Linked DNA regions of Homo sapiens: regions 2 and 3 are each linked to region 1. The links are contacts of gene promoters, found by promoter capture Hi-C in blood cells and fetal thymus (Javierre and others, 2016). All regions are on one chromosome and are shown on one strand. Each heading gives the region's core, a stretch centred on a gene start or on the middle of the fragment in contact. The rest is flanking DNA. Distances are from core to core; before and after follow the strand shown. Region 1 holds the start of GALNT10 (polypeptide N-acetylgalactosaminyltransferase 10). Region 2 has its middle 11 kb from the start of MIR3141. Region 3 has its middle 16 kb from the start of HAND1.

Region 1 (4,110 bases), core at 413-2,912:
AGCTAGCTGTCAGGGTTTGAACCAGGGGTTTAGGAAAGAGATGGAAACCTTAGTTTCTAAACAGTAAGCTCTACCAGAAAGATCAATGAGACCCTCTGGGATGCTTTGCAGCAATTAACAGAGTTACAGGCGGAGCTCAAATTGGTCAGCTCTGTAGCAAAGAGCCCTCTGTGCTCCAGATGCCAGACTGCCTAGACAGCAGCCTGATACTGGGAAGAATAAGGAAAACCATCAATCTCAGAAAAGCCAGCCTCTTTCGTCGAGGCCAGCCAACAGTCAGTCAAGTCTGACCCTGATACACAAATTATCCACTTCTCATGGGACCAGAGAAATCCCGTAAGAAAGCCTGAAATGTTCCACTATATGAAACAGTCTAAGCAATACACTCACTAGCACCTCCTGGGAGGGTGGGAGTGATGTGACAGAGCTTCTGCTATGAGGGAGCTGCTAGTCTAAATGCGTGCACGCACACATACACACAAACATACGTGGGTAAGTTCAAAGGAGGCAGAAACCATTCCGATCCCAGTTTTGGCTGCAATAAACACTACAACTAACCAGACTAGACAAGTTCAGAAGAGATAGGGAAGGCTTCTGGTGTTCCATCCTCAGGACACTGGGCACCAATAGCCTCTGGGACATTTTGGGGGTCCCCCCACCAGAGCCCCACCTCTGGACTCCCATAAGGTCAAAGGCAGCAGGTCCCTCAAGGACCAGGAGCTTACCCCCTTCTCCACCCCCAGGGGCTTGAAGCTTTAAAGGGAGCATGATCTTTACATTCTGCAAGGAATCCACAGGATCTGAGAAAGGAAAAGGCTAGAGTTGGGGCGGGGGTGTTGAATAAATGGGGAGAGGAGGAAGGCCCGGGTGTCTCGTTGGGCAGATGAGAAATCAGGAAAAGGGCTGACCTGAGCAAAGAACACTGGGATCAGCAGGTAGGGGTTGTGGGGGGGGGGGGGTGGGAGGAGGGAAGCAGAGAGGACCTGGACACCAAATAGAAGAACCAGAATCTTCATTCCTATTGGCACAAGGCAGGAGTCATCCTGGGATACAGGGATGCAGATAGGATCCTTCAAAAGAGATCCGCTGGAAGACGTCAAGGAATACCAGACGGGGACAGAAAGGAAGGTGGTAACATGTGGTGAGAAATAGCGTCCTGAGTGCTAGTTCGGACTCAGTCTCTGACTGGCGTGGGACCCTGGACAAGTCCCGACAGGACTTAATTTTCCCATCCGGAAAATGGGAAGAGCTGAAGAGTCTCGGAGCTGACTCTGAGGAGGCAGACAGCAGAAGGTGGAGGAAGGAACCACAGGCTAAAAGTGAATTCGGGAAGGGGGTGTTCCCGGCCTGTAGCAACGGGGGGACTCACCTGTCCCGCCGCCGGCGCCACCGCCGCCCCCGATCCCCCAGGGGTGCCGTCGGGCTGCCGCTCGCGGTACAGCGCCCAAAGCCCCACGTTGGGCAGGAGGACCAGGGCCGCCAGCACCAGCGCCACCGCCTGCAGGAGCCGCTTCTCCTTCCGCCTCATCGGGGCCGGTCAGCCCCGCCGCGCCCCGCCGGCCCCGCCGCGCCGCCCCCAGCTCCGCGCGTCCGCCCGTCCGCCCGGCGGCGGCAGCAGCTCAGCCAGCAGAAGCGGCTGCGGCGCCGGCCCCGCTCCAACTCCGCGGCACTTCCGCCGCTCGCCGGCCGGGGAGCTGGGCGCCGCCACCACGCCGCCGCCACGAGGGGGTCGTCGCCGCCGCCACCGCCCCCGGGCCCCGCCGAGCCGCCCGCCCCGCGCCGCCTGCCCCCGCGTCGACCGCCGAGTCTCTGCGCTGCAGGCTCGGCCCTCTCACGGAGCGTCTCGGCCCGCCCGGGCGCTGCAGGATGCCGGGCCGGAGCGCTTCCCCCCTCTCGAGCCGCGATGGTCCGTCCCACTCCTCGGCGGCTCCCCCGCCCTCTGGAGCTTTGCGAAAGTCCCGGAGTTGGCGAGTTGGGCGCTAACTGGTGCGGGCTGGGCACCGCTGGGTGGGGTGCATGTCCGCTCGCCCGGGTACCCTGCCGCCCCGCCCGGCAACCTCCGCCCGGGACTGCAGCCGAACCTTTGCTGCCTCCCTGGGGATATGCAAATAGTGCTGGGGCCCCGCCGGGCGTTCTGAGCCTGGAGCCCCCGGGGCTGTCACTTCCAGCCCACCTAGGCTCGGCCCCCAGGACCTGCGGACCTACTTTGACCCCGGCGACTCGGTGTTCCCGGCCATGAAACGGGGCCACAGCCGTGCTGCACGCTCACTGTTCCGCGGGCGGGCCCTGGTTTTCTTCCTCTAGGGGGGCCCTGGCGTTAGGTGTGAACGCCCTCTGCAAACTGTAGGGAGCTGTGCCCGGCCGCCGCCCGTCTGTAGATCCTGCAAACCGGCGGGTGGGTAAGTGACGGTAGCCTCTCTGCAGCACCTTTCCTCACGCAAGTCCAACCCCCTTGGAGTTAGAATGCCCTGCATTCTCACGCGTGCTTTTGGATCCTAAGCGCACTGAGCCCTTCCCGGAAAGCTCTCAGCAAACCGTTGGCGAGCGCCACTATGTGCCAAACACTGTGCCAGGCTCTGGGATGAAATGAAAACAGACCTGAGCCCTGACGTCTGGGAGCTGAAACATGAAACACGTAATTTCACTAGACCAGGCAATGTGTCTGTAACTGTGGCGAGGGCTTTGACAGAGGAGTCGGGCTTCTGGGCGATGCGGAGGGCCGTGGAGCCGGACTCCGACGGTGATGCCAGCCAGCGGCTCCTCCTCGGGGCGCTCGACGCTGGTCACTTAGCTGCCTCCTCCCTGATGCGGTGGAACGGAGCACCCCCTTGGCTACCTTACTCTCTGCCACCCCCACATTCGTCCTCTTGATTCTCTGCTTCTCTAGCTCAGCCGCTGACCTTCGTGCCTAGCTGCCACTAGTCCTTGACCAGCGTTCTGGCAACTCTTGCCTCCAAGTTCTTCCAGCTCCAGGCTGAGCGATGGGGATTCAGTTTTCTGACATCACAGCTCAGTTCTTGATTTCTGCAGCAAAACCTTCAAGGCTTCCATCACCTCGGCTCTAGAGTCCATCATGCTCCTCTCCTATGACCTGCTAGGGCTGATCAAACGTTCTGTCTCCTGCCGTGCCCTGCCCTGCCCTGCCCTGAGCTTCGCTTAGCCTGTTGCAGGCTTTGTGTTTTCCTTCTTGTGCTGTTGACCACGCAGCTCCTTCTACCCATAAAACCCCCTTCTCTAGGTCGGTGGAAATCTTGTTCATCCTTCCGTGTCTAGTTAAACTGCCACCTCCTCCACGAAGCCTTCTAAAACTCCTCCTCAGGGAACTGTTTTCTTTCTTTAGATTTCCATCACAATAATGCTTACCTTTTATTGAGTGCTTACTCTATGTCAGGCAGCCCTTGAGATGCATTACCTCTTTAAATGCTCACAGTTACCCTGTGAGGTACATGCTTTTCTTATACCCATTGGCGAATGAGAGTCAGATTTAAAAATGCATGTAATCCCAGCACTTTGGGAGGCCAAGGCGGGCAGATCACGAGGTCAAGAGATCGAGACCATCCTGGCCAACATGGCGAAACCCTGTCTCTACTAAAAATACAAAAATTAGCTGGGCGTGGTGGCGGGCACCTGTAATCCCAGCTACTTGGGAGGCTGAGTCAGGAGAATCGCTTGAACCCAGGAAGCAGAGGTTGCAGTGAGCCGAGATCGTGCCACTGCACTCCAGCCTGGCAACAGAGCGAGACTCTATCTCAAAAAAATAAATAAATAAATAAATTAATTAATTAATTAAATAAATAAAAGAATGTGGCAGCCAGAATGATCTTGTTTTATCCAAGGTTAGATTGTATCGCCCCTCTGCTCAAATCCCTGTAGTGGCTTCCCACCTCTCATTAGGTTCCTAAGAAAGTACAGGACCCTACAAGCCCATATGTGATCAGCTCTCACTCCTTACTGTCCTTATTGTGCCCCAGTGACATTGGCTTCCTTGTTGTTCCTCAGAGCATCCCTCAGGCAGGCACAGTCCTGCCTCAGTACCTTTGCACCTGTTGTTACCTCTGCCTAGAATGGCCATTTTTCTATTTCTAGCTCCTAACTCTATGTCTTTTTTAA
Region 2 (4,110 bases), core at 839-3,338, 420 kb before region 1:
GTTGCTTCTCTTTCCAAACCCACCTACGCAATCTGCTCTCTCACAATAGGAAGAACATGGCTCCTTGGGCAGGGATCCTGGCTTAACCACCCTCTATCCCCCAACCCCAACCCTGGCCGAGAGCCCAGGAGGGTGGTTTCACAGATCTACCACCCTCATCCTTTCCTTCCACAAATTACTACTGAGCCCCCCTCTATGCACCAGGCTCTGTCTGAAGCGCTGAGGAGAGAATCTCAGCTCACTTCTTCATGGGAGAGGCAGATGAATAGCAGAAAATAGATATGAATGTCAGCCTCTGATTATAAAATTAAACAGGGAAAAATGAGAGTGGCACAGTGGGGTGGGTAGGGGAAGACCTTAGAAATGTGGCCAGGGAAGGCATCTCTGGGATGTGACGTTTGAGAAGAGACCTGCAGGAGGTGCCTTTTGAAGATCTGGGAAGGAGTTTCCAGGCACAGGAAGAGCCAGTGCCAAAGTCTCAGGGCAAGAGCAAATGAGGAGGGAAGGGGTCTGAAAGGGAAGGAAGGCAGGCAGGCGAAGCTGGAGCACCCCACAGCCAGGGCTGAGATCAAAGAGGAGGGCAGGGCCCGATGGGTGGGGCAAGGTCTGGGTTTCATTTTAGACGCAGAGGCAGCCCCCTGAAGGGTTCTAAGTAGGAGAGTGAGGTATTCTCATTTAGTTTTAATCTCTCTGGCTGCCAGTGAGTCCCTCCCTAAAGTTCCCCTTCCTCCCTCCCCAGCAATCTAATCCACAGATGAGAACCCGGGAGCATAACTGGTAGCCGGGGCTGCTGACCCTGGCCCAGGGTCTGCAGGGTTAATCCCGGGGGCCTGGAGCAGCCCCTGATTAGCAGGCCCTGCCACTCCCTGCTGATAAACTCCCAGGCAGGAAGAGGCAGGACTCATCCGGTAGGAAAGTGGAGAAACCAAAGCTGGTGAGGAGGGGAGCTCCAGGAGCACCTTAGGAGGGCTCTCTTCCCCTTTTGGAGGTGGTGAGTTCCCTAGGTGAAAGCCCTCTGGTTTTATCCCTCATTTGGCATTTTCATAGCCACTCTTACAGTCAGGGCCTGGTGTGGATTTTATGGGCCCCTGTTTAAGGAAGAGAAAACAAAATTAGGTGCAGGGCTTTAGAAGAGCCATGTGTACATGAGGTCCCCTGAGACCTAAGCTTCACTAGCTCCATGGTAAGTGTCCATCTCTAATTTTCCATCAGGGGAATAAGCCCTGTATACAGATGAGGAAGTTGAGGCTCTGAGAGCCTGAAAGGGATATAGAAAACAGAAGGGTTTCTGCTGGGATTTCTTATCCCCCAGCCCAGAACTCATTCTACCACCCAATCCATCTAAAAATCCAGTTGTGCCTTCTCCTTGCAGACCTGCTCCCACCACCAGGCTCAGGCCACAAGGAAGGGTAGCATAGGGCATGGTGGAGATGGGCGGGCTGGTGGCAACCTGCAGAGGGAAAGGGCTTAGCATGAAGCAGCATCCCTGTTGGGGACAGGATCCTGGGTGGCCAGGATTCCATCTGCCTACCAGACATTCCAAACCACACATTGTTTTTTTTTTTTTTTTTTTTTTTGAGACAGAGTTTTGCTCTTGTTGCCCAGGCTGGAGTGCAATGGTGCAGTTTTGGCTCACCGCAACCTCTGCCTCCTGGGTTAAAACAATCCTCCTTTTGCTGTGAACCGAGATCACGCCTCTGCACTCCAGCCTGGGTGACAGAGTGAGACTCCGTCTCAAAAAATTAAAAAAAGAAAATAAAGGAATCCTCTTGTCTCAGCCTCTCCAGTAGCTGGGATTACCAGCGCCTGCCACCACGCCCAGCTAATTTTTGAATTTTCAGTAGAGACGGGGTCTTACATGTTGGCCAGGCTGGTCTTGAACTCCTGACCTCAGGTGATCTGCCTGCCTCAGCCTCCCAAAGTGCTGGGATTACAGGCATGAGCCACTGCGCCTGGCCCCCAAACCACACATTCTAAACCACCTGGAGGTCAGAGCAGCGGCTCCGGGATCTGGCTGAAGATCAGAATCCCTGGGAATTTGTTAAAATGCCATCCCTGGGCTCTAATCCAAAGCTGCAGAATGAGAATTGCCAGGGGTGGGACCAGAAATTTGGGCATTGAACACACTTTCCAGGTTCTTCTTCAGCACAGGTGGGCTGGAACCCCTGATTTAACCATCAGCCTTGCCTCCTGGGGGTCTGCCTACCTGTGCCAGGGTGGGTCCCCAGGAGTTATCAGGGACAAAGGAATCCCCTTTTCCTGGCAGGGGTGAATGTGAGTGTCTAGGGCTGACTGCTCACATGATAGCATGGAGTCTCAGCTCTGGCCAGCATGACTCTGGGAAGACGAGGACAAGACCCAGGGCTTGGTGGGGACGGGCTTTGCCAGGGCATGAATCATGCTTCTAGTGCTTCTAGGGGAGCCATCTCCAGGACTCCCTCCCCTCACCTCTAGAATGGAGTTGAGGAGGCCTGACACGAGAATTATTAAAGCACTTAGGATCCTTCTGGTGACCTTTAGAGAAGCTGTGCTGTGTGCCAACACAGTCCTAGAGGGAAGAAAGACACATTCCTGATGACAGACAAGGAAGCTGAGGTCCTGAGAGGTAGGGTAACTTGTCCGAGATTACCCAACTAGGAACTGGCAAGACTGAAATTTGAACTCAGGGTGGTCTGATTTCAGGGCATGTCATTTTTAGGCCATCCTGTCTTGTTTGGCTCTCTTTTCATTTCCTGTCATTTCGCTAGGTGATATTCATTGAGCACCTCTTTTGTGCCAGTGGAGAGCTGGCACCTCCACTCCACCGTTCTGCAGTGAGGTTGGATAAGGCACGAGGTGGTGGCCCTCTGGAAACTGTAAAGTGCTCTCTGGCCTTGGAGGATTCTTCTCAACCGTGTGGCTCAGCTCTCTCTGTGCTTTCTTCACAGCCTAACTGGGCTGGGAGAGTGCTATCTCTGGCTGAGAGAACCACAGACTTCAAGATGTATGAGGGCTACCTGGGAAGCTTGTTAAAATGCAGATTGGAACCACCCCCAGAGATTCCAATTCAGTTGGTCAGAGCTGGGCCTTGGGCTATGCATTTTTGACAACTGTCTAGATTGTCTGCTGCGGGTGGTTTGAGCATTGCACTTTAAGATATGGTACACTATAATAGAAAGACAAAAGTCAGAAGAAAGACGTAGTGACCATCTGGCAGCCCAAGTCTTAGATAATGAAAGTTAAGGACTTTCTTCTTGCGAAAATGCATAAACTCACCTACATCCAAGATTTTGAAGTTTCAGGAAGTTTTGGGTCCCTGAAGGCCAGCCATGCAATTATGGATCCTTGGACCCCAACTTAATAACCCCTGATCTCCATGCTAGGCTCACAGGTCACCTGGGCAATGAAGGCCCCCCTAGGCCTCCCAATAAAGTTGCTTCTCCTCTGTGTTCCTGTAACACAGTAAGGACTTAACTCCATCAGAGTTGTGGTTTACCCTATTTACGCCTCTCCCCCTGGACTGTGGGGCATGTGGAAGTCATTTTCCTCCTCCTTCCCGGCGCAAGGTAGGATTATACTGTCCTGTCCCCTTTGAGGTTAGACATATCCATGTGATTACTTTAACCATGAAATGTTAGCAGTAGAAACTATAAGCCAGTGTGTGAGTCCCCAAGTTTGCTTCACCTTGCCACAGTGATCTTGCAAATGTGTCAAGGTGGAGGGTCCACCAGCCCCTGTCCCTGAGTCACTGGGTGAACAGAAACTCATGCTGACCTGTGTTGGACATGCAGTGTGAGTAAGAAATAAACCTGGGGTATTTTTTTTTTTTGAGATAGTCTCGCTCTGTCACTTAGGCTGGAGTGCAATGGCATTATCTTGGCTCACTGCAACCTGTGCCTCCCAGGTTCAAGCAATTCTCCTGCCTCAGCCTGTAGCTGGGATTACAGGCACCTGCAACCATGCCCGGCTAATTTTTGTGTTTTTGTAGAGACGGGGTTTCACCATGTTGGCCAGGCTGGTCTCAGACTCCTGACCTCAAGTGATCCGCCCGCCTCGGCCTCCCAAAGTGCTGGGATTACAGCATAATCCCACGCCTGGCCAAAGCTAGGTTTTTTGTTACTGTAGGAAAAC
Region 3 (4,110 bases), core at 1,123-3,622, 300 kb before region 1:
CTAATATGGTTTAATTAACATTAGTAACATCTCATGACCACTGACTGCTGAAAGTTCTGAAAAGGGTTTTGTTTTGTTAAAATGCACATTTGAGGGAGATTCACTCCCCTGACTTATGAGTAAAACAAAGACTTCACTGGGTGACCTAAATGAGACTTAGTGGAGAAAAGTTGCCATGTTTGGACAGAGATAAATGATATTCATGTTGTATGGTTTTAATATACTAGTACATTCTAGAATGTAAAAGGATTAATTTAAACTCTACAATTTACATCAATATTTTGAATATGTAAATTTTTTATGGGAGACTGTATTACATTTTGCTGAAATTAGAACAAAGTAAAGAGAAAGGGCAAGAAAGCAACATTGCTGATCTCTCTAGTATGAAAGATTTGGAGGGAGTGTGGCAATATATATATAAATGAAAAAATGTAATTGTGTTCATCATATTTAAAAATAGAATATGTGACTGGGCACGGTGGCTCACGCCTGTAATCCCAGCTCTTTGGGAGGCCAAGGCGGGTGGATCGCCTGAGGTCAGGAGTTCGAGACCAGCCTGACCAACATGGAGACACCCCCTCTTTACTAAAAATACAAAATTAGCCAGGCGTGTTGGCACATGCCTGTAATCCCAGCTATGCGGGAGGTTGAGGCAGGAGAATAGCTTGAACCTGGGAGGCGGAGGCTGTGATAAGCTGAGATAGTGCCACTGCACTCCAGCCTGGGCTCCGTCTCAAAAAAAAGAATATACTAAAGAACTGTGATATAAAAGTACTCTGTTAATGTAAAAAATAAAGCAAGTGTAATTCTTTTAGAATATAAAATTTGAGCATTACCTGCTGAGCAGTTCCCAAATTAAGTACAAGGAATGTATATTCATTTTCTGCCATATACTGTATGTAACAGGGAATACCTTGCTAAAATGATAAATACTTAGGATATAGTGGTAATGGCTTTCACATTTTTATAACATAACTCACTACACGCCATTCTTGTAGCTGCCCACTCTTAGAAACTTTGTTGCCTAATATTGAGGAAGCGGCTTTAATTTCTTCCATTTGGCAGTGTATGTCTATAGTGGAGCATGAAATTGGCTATGCATTGCTATTGCCTGCTGAAGTTTCTCTTCCTTGGCTCTTCTACAGTGGCAAATTGTTCTCTTTTCCATGAAGCTACTGAGAAAATCATTTATTTCCATTTTTCCCTCCACAAAGTCTTCCACAATATTATCAGGTTCTTCCCCAGCTTCATGTGCAGCTACTTTCAATGTTGCCTGTAGGGCACTTGCACTACAGCTCTCACTAAGTTCACACTGCCTTTGCATCTTCTTTTTGAAAGCAGACTTCATTTGTTTAAGTAATTCATACTTATCTAAAACGGTTTGCCTTTTGGCTCCCAAGCTGGGCTCCAAAAGGATATTTTTTTCTTGCTAGTTCCTCAATACTTTTTACTAAGTCATCTTTGTCAGTAATAATTTGTTTTAGTTGAGACAAAGTCAGAAACTGTTCTAGTAATACCTCCTCTTGTTCATTCATATCTGTGAGTCGTGACACGCTTAGTTCTGAGAGTTCTGGAAATGCATCAGAGACATCTGGCATCTTGTAACCAAAACCATTTTGGCTTGTCAATATTGAAGCATCTGTTGTGGAAATGGGTAATGGCAGATTTGAAAGGACACCAAATGAAGGAGCGACGGGCTTGGCTGTGGTATGACTTGTTGTTGAAGAAGAAACAGTATTAGCAACAGATAAAGAAGTGATAACTCCTCTTTGTTTCTTCTGGGGGATATGGAGGAAGAAATGGAAAACATTGAGAAGCATAAAGCGGCATCCCACTTGGGTTACTGTATAGGTAAGGAAATGCTGTTGCAGTAGGAGCTAAAACTGGAGGATTCTTCCAAAACTCATCCAACAGACTCTGAATAATTTTTCCAAGATCTGGGTGCATTGTAAAATTGTTTGCTAATGGAGAAGTAACATACACTCCTTGTTTATCCATTAAGTGATGTCGTATTGGTGGAAAAACACTGATCACTGGTTTTTCCTGAGGAAATTGTGGAGGAAGCAATATATGTTAATTGTCAGGTTGTTTATGGTGAATGGCAATCTGTATTCCACATCTTTCTGTATTTTAGCTATACTGGAGTGTGAGTTCCGGAGGGACTCGATCAGGCGTTGCTTCTGCTGCTGGAGGCTGGTAAGGCCACCGGGAACCCGGCTGCGGAGGAGGAGGCGCTCTTTGTCAGGTCCTCGGGCGGAGGCTCTGGAAGGCTCTGGCCTGCTTCTCCCAGCGGCTCGGCCCAGCGGTTCTCCTGCGACAGAGGACCGGGCTGGGACGTCCGTGGCCCAAGCGCTGGGGACCGCGTCTTCTCTAAGCCAGCCCTGCCTGTGCTTCCCGGGTTCTGGCGGACATGTTATGAATGGCGGGCAGCTGGAGAGGGGAACTTGCTGCCCAGAACAGGCAGTCCCACCTTCACCGCCCAGACGCCCAAGCCGGCCAGTTAGGCAGCCTGATCGCCCAGCGCTCCACCACCTGTGACGCCGTCTCTAAAAGGACTCTTTTAAAAAAGCATAGGTACAATGTCATTATCACACCTTTAGAAAACCTAACAATAATCAATAATTATCAAATAGCCACGTAATATGAAGTAAATAATATTCATTGACACCCCCACCCCTGAAAAAAAAAAGCCGGCCACCCATTGCTAAGTGAGAAAAGGAAAACAGAATAGACTCTGACCCCATTTTGGCAACATACACATCCTAATGGTAACAGTTATTTGGGGTTAGAAAGATTATGGATGGTTTCTTCTTTCTCAGGTTCTCGCATTACTTTTTTTTTTTTTTTTTTTTTAATTTTTTTGAGATAGAATCTCACTCTGTTACCCAGGCTGGAGTGCAGTGGTGCGGTCCCAGCTCACTGCAGACTCAAGCTCCTGGGCTCAAGCAATCCTTTCACCTCAGCCTCCCAAGTACCTGGGACTACAAGGGCACACCACCACATCCAGCTTTTTTTTTTTTTTAATTATTATTATTATTTGTAAAGATGAGGCCTCCCTATGTTGCCCAGGCTGGTCTCTAACTCCTGGGCCCAAGCCATTCTCCTGCCTCGGCCTCACAAAGTGCTAGGATTACAGACATGAGCCACCAGGCCCAGCCCATATTACTTTTTGAATTAAAAAAATAATACAAAGGGAAGAATAAGATGGTAGACTTCTTTTTCAAAGTCAAAATCCTCTGATTTAGGATCTAAGTATTAAGGGTTTATCCTGTCCCATCTTGAAATGAAGAAGACACAACCACCCAGAGAAGTTAAGGGTTTTGGCCACAATCACAGAGTAGGGGGAGGCTGTGAAGGAGAGAGGGGTATCCTGCTGGCTTCCCAGACTCTTGGAGAAAGCAGAGACAGAGGTCCTGGGACACCTCTCAAGCTCTGGTCCCTGTTGTCCCACTACCTTCACCCTCTTACCTTCCCATCTTTATCAAGCCTCACACGTTTGGGGCACTTTGTTGCTGGAGTTGACAGACCAAACGAAACAGAGGGGGGAGGCAGATAACCAGAGCCCTTTCTTGCCACACCTAGTCCTGTTGGCTTGTCAGGTCTGGAGGAGAAGGCATCTTGTTTCCCCAACACATTCCAGAGTCATGTCCCCCTGGCTGCCTGGCCTCCAGGCCAGGTCCCCCCAGCCCCCAAGACTTTCATGGTTGAGACAAAAAAGGAATGAAAGACTTGACATTGTTACACTCCTCTCTCCAAAGTCCCAGTTTTGCTGTGTGCCCTTGGGCAAATCCCTCTCCTCTCTGGGACTGTGTTTCTGCACCTGGACAGGGAAGTGGCTGGGATGGATAATTTCTGAGACATTCACCCTCCTTCCCCACCCAATTCTGATTTCATTCAGAGTTTCTAAATCTATCAGATATAGGAAGGAGATCCACCACACTTCTAAATGTCAGCTCAGAATCTCATGGCTTGGCCGGGCGTGGTGGCTAACGCCTGTAATCCCAGCACTTTGGGAGGCCGAGGTGGGCAGATCACGAGGTCATGAGATCGAGACCATCCTGGCTAACACAGTGAAACCCTGTCTCTACTGAAAATACAAATAATTAGCTG

What was found. Contacts are between HindIII fragments. The CHiCAGO score rates a contact against its expected background, and 5 or more counts as called.
Region 2: a fragment that was not itself captured here is called in contact with the fragment with the promoter of GALNT10 in region 1 in 1 of 17 cell types (erythroblasts); the score reaches 5.6 in erythroblasts.
Region 3: a fragment that was not itself captured here is called in contact with the fragment with the promoter of GALNT10 in region 1 in 1 of 17 cell types (naive B cells); the score reaches 5.1 in naive B cells.

Annotation. Positions count from the first base shown.
Region 1 is chr5:154,188,285-154,192,394 of GRCh38, reverse strand. GALNT10 (polypeptide N-acetylgalactosaminyltransferase 10) reads right to left here and starts at 1,662. Exons shown (of 12, transcript NM_198321.4): 1 at 1,370-1,662. The coding sequence starts at 1,528. It overlaps LOC124901118 (a long non-coding RNA gene), which reads left to right and starts at 2,316. Exons shown (of 2, transcript XR_007059010.1): 1 at 2,316-2,399. RefSeq lists silencers at 1,367-1,426, 1,497-1,576, 1,667-1,776, 1,787-1,886, 1,977-2,066 and an enhancer at 2,287-3,252. The HindIII fragment of the contact is 10,101 bases long and covers 756-4,110 here.
Region 2 is chr5:154,605,347-154,609,456 of GRCh38, reverse strand. No RefSeq gene overlaps it. Among named protein-coding and RNA genes, the nearest start is that of MIR3141, 11 kb to the right of the region's middle. The HindIII fragment of the contact is 1,837 bases long and covers 1,170-3,006 here.
Region 3 is chr5:154,491,713-154,495,822 of GRCh38, reverse strand. It overlaps the pseudogene LOC100128833 and the pseudogene LOC100271907. Among named protein-coding and RNA genes, the nearest start is that of HAND1, 16 kb to the right of the region's middle. The HindIII fragment of the contact is 5,860 bases long and covers 1-4,110 here.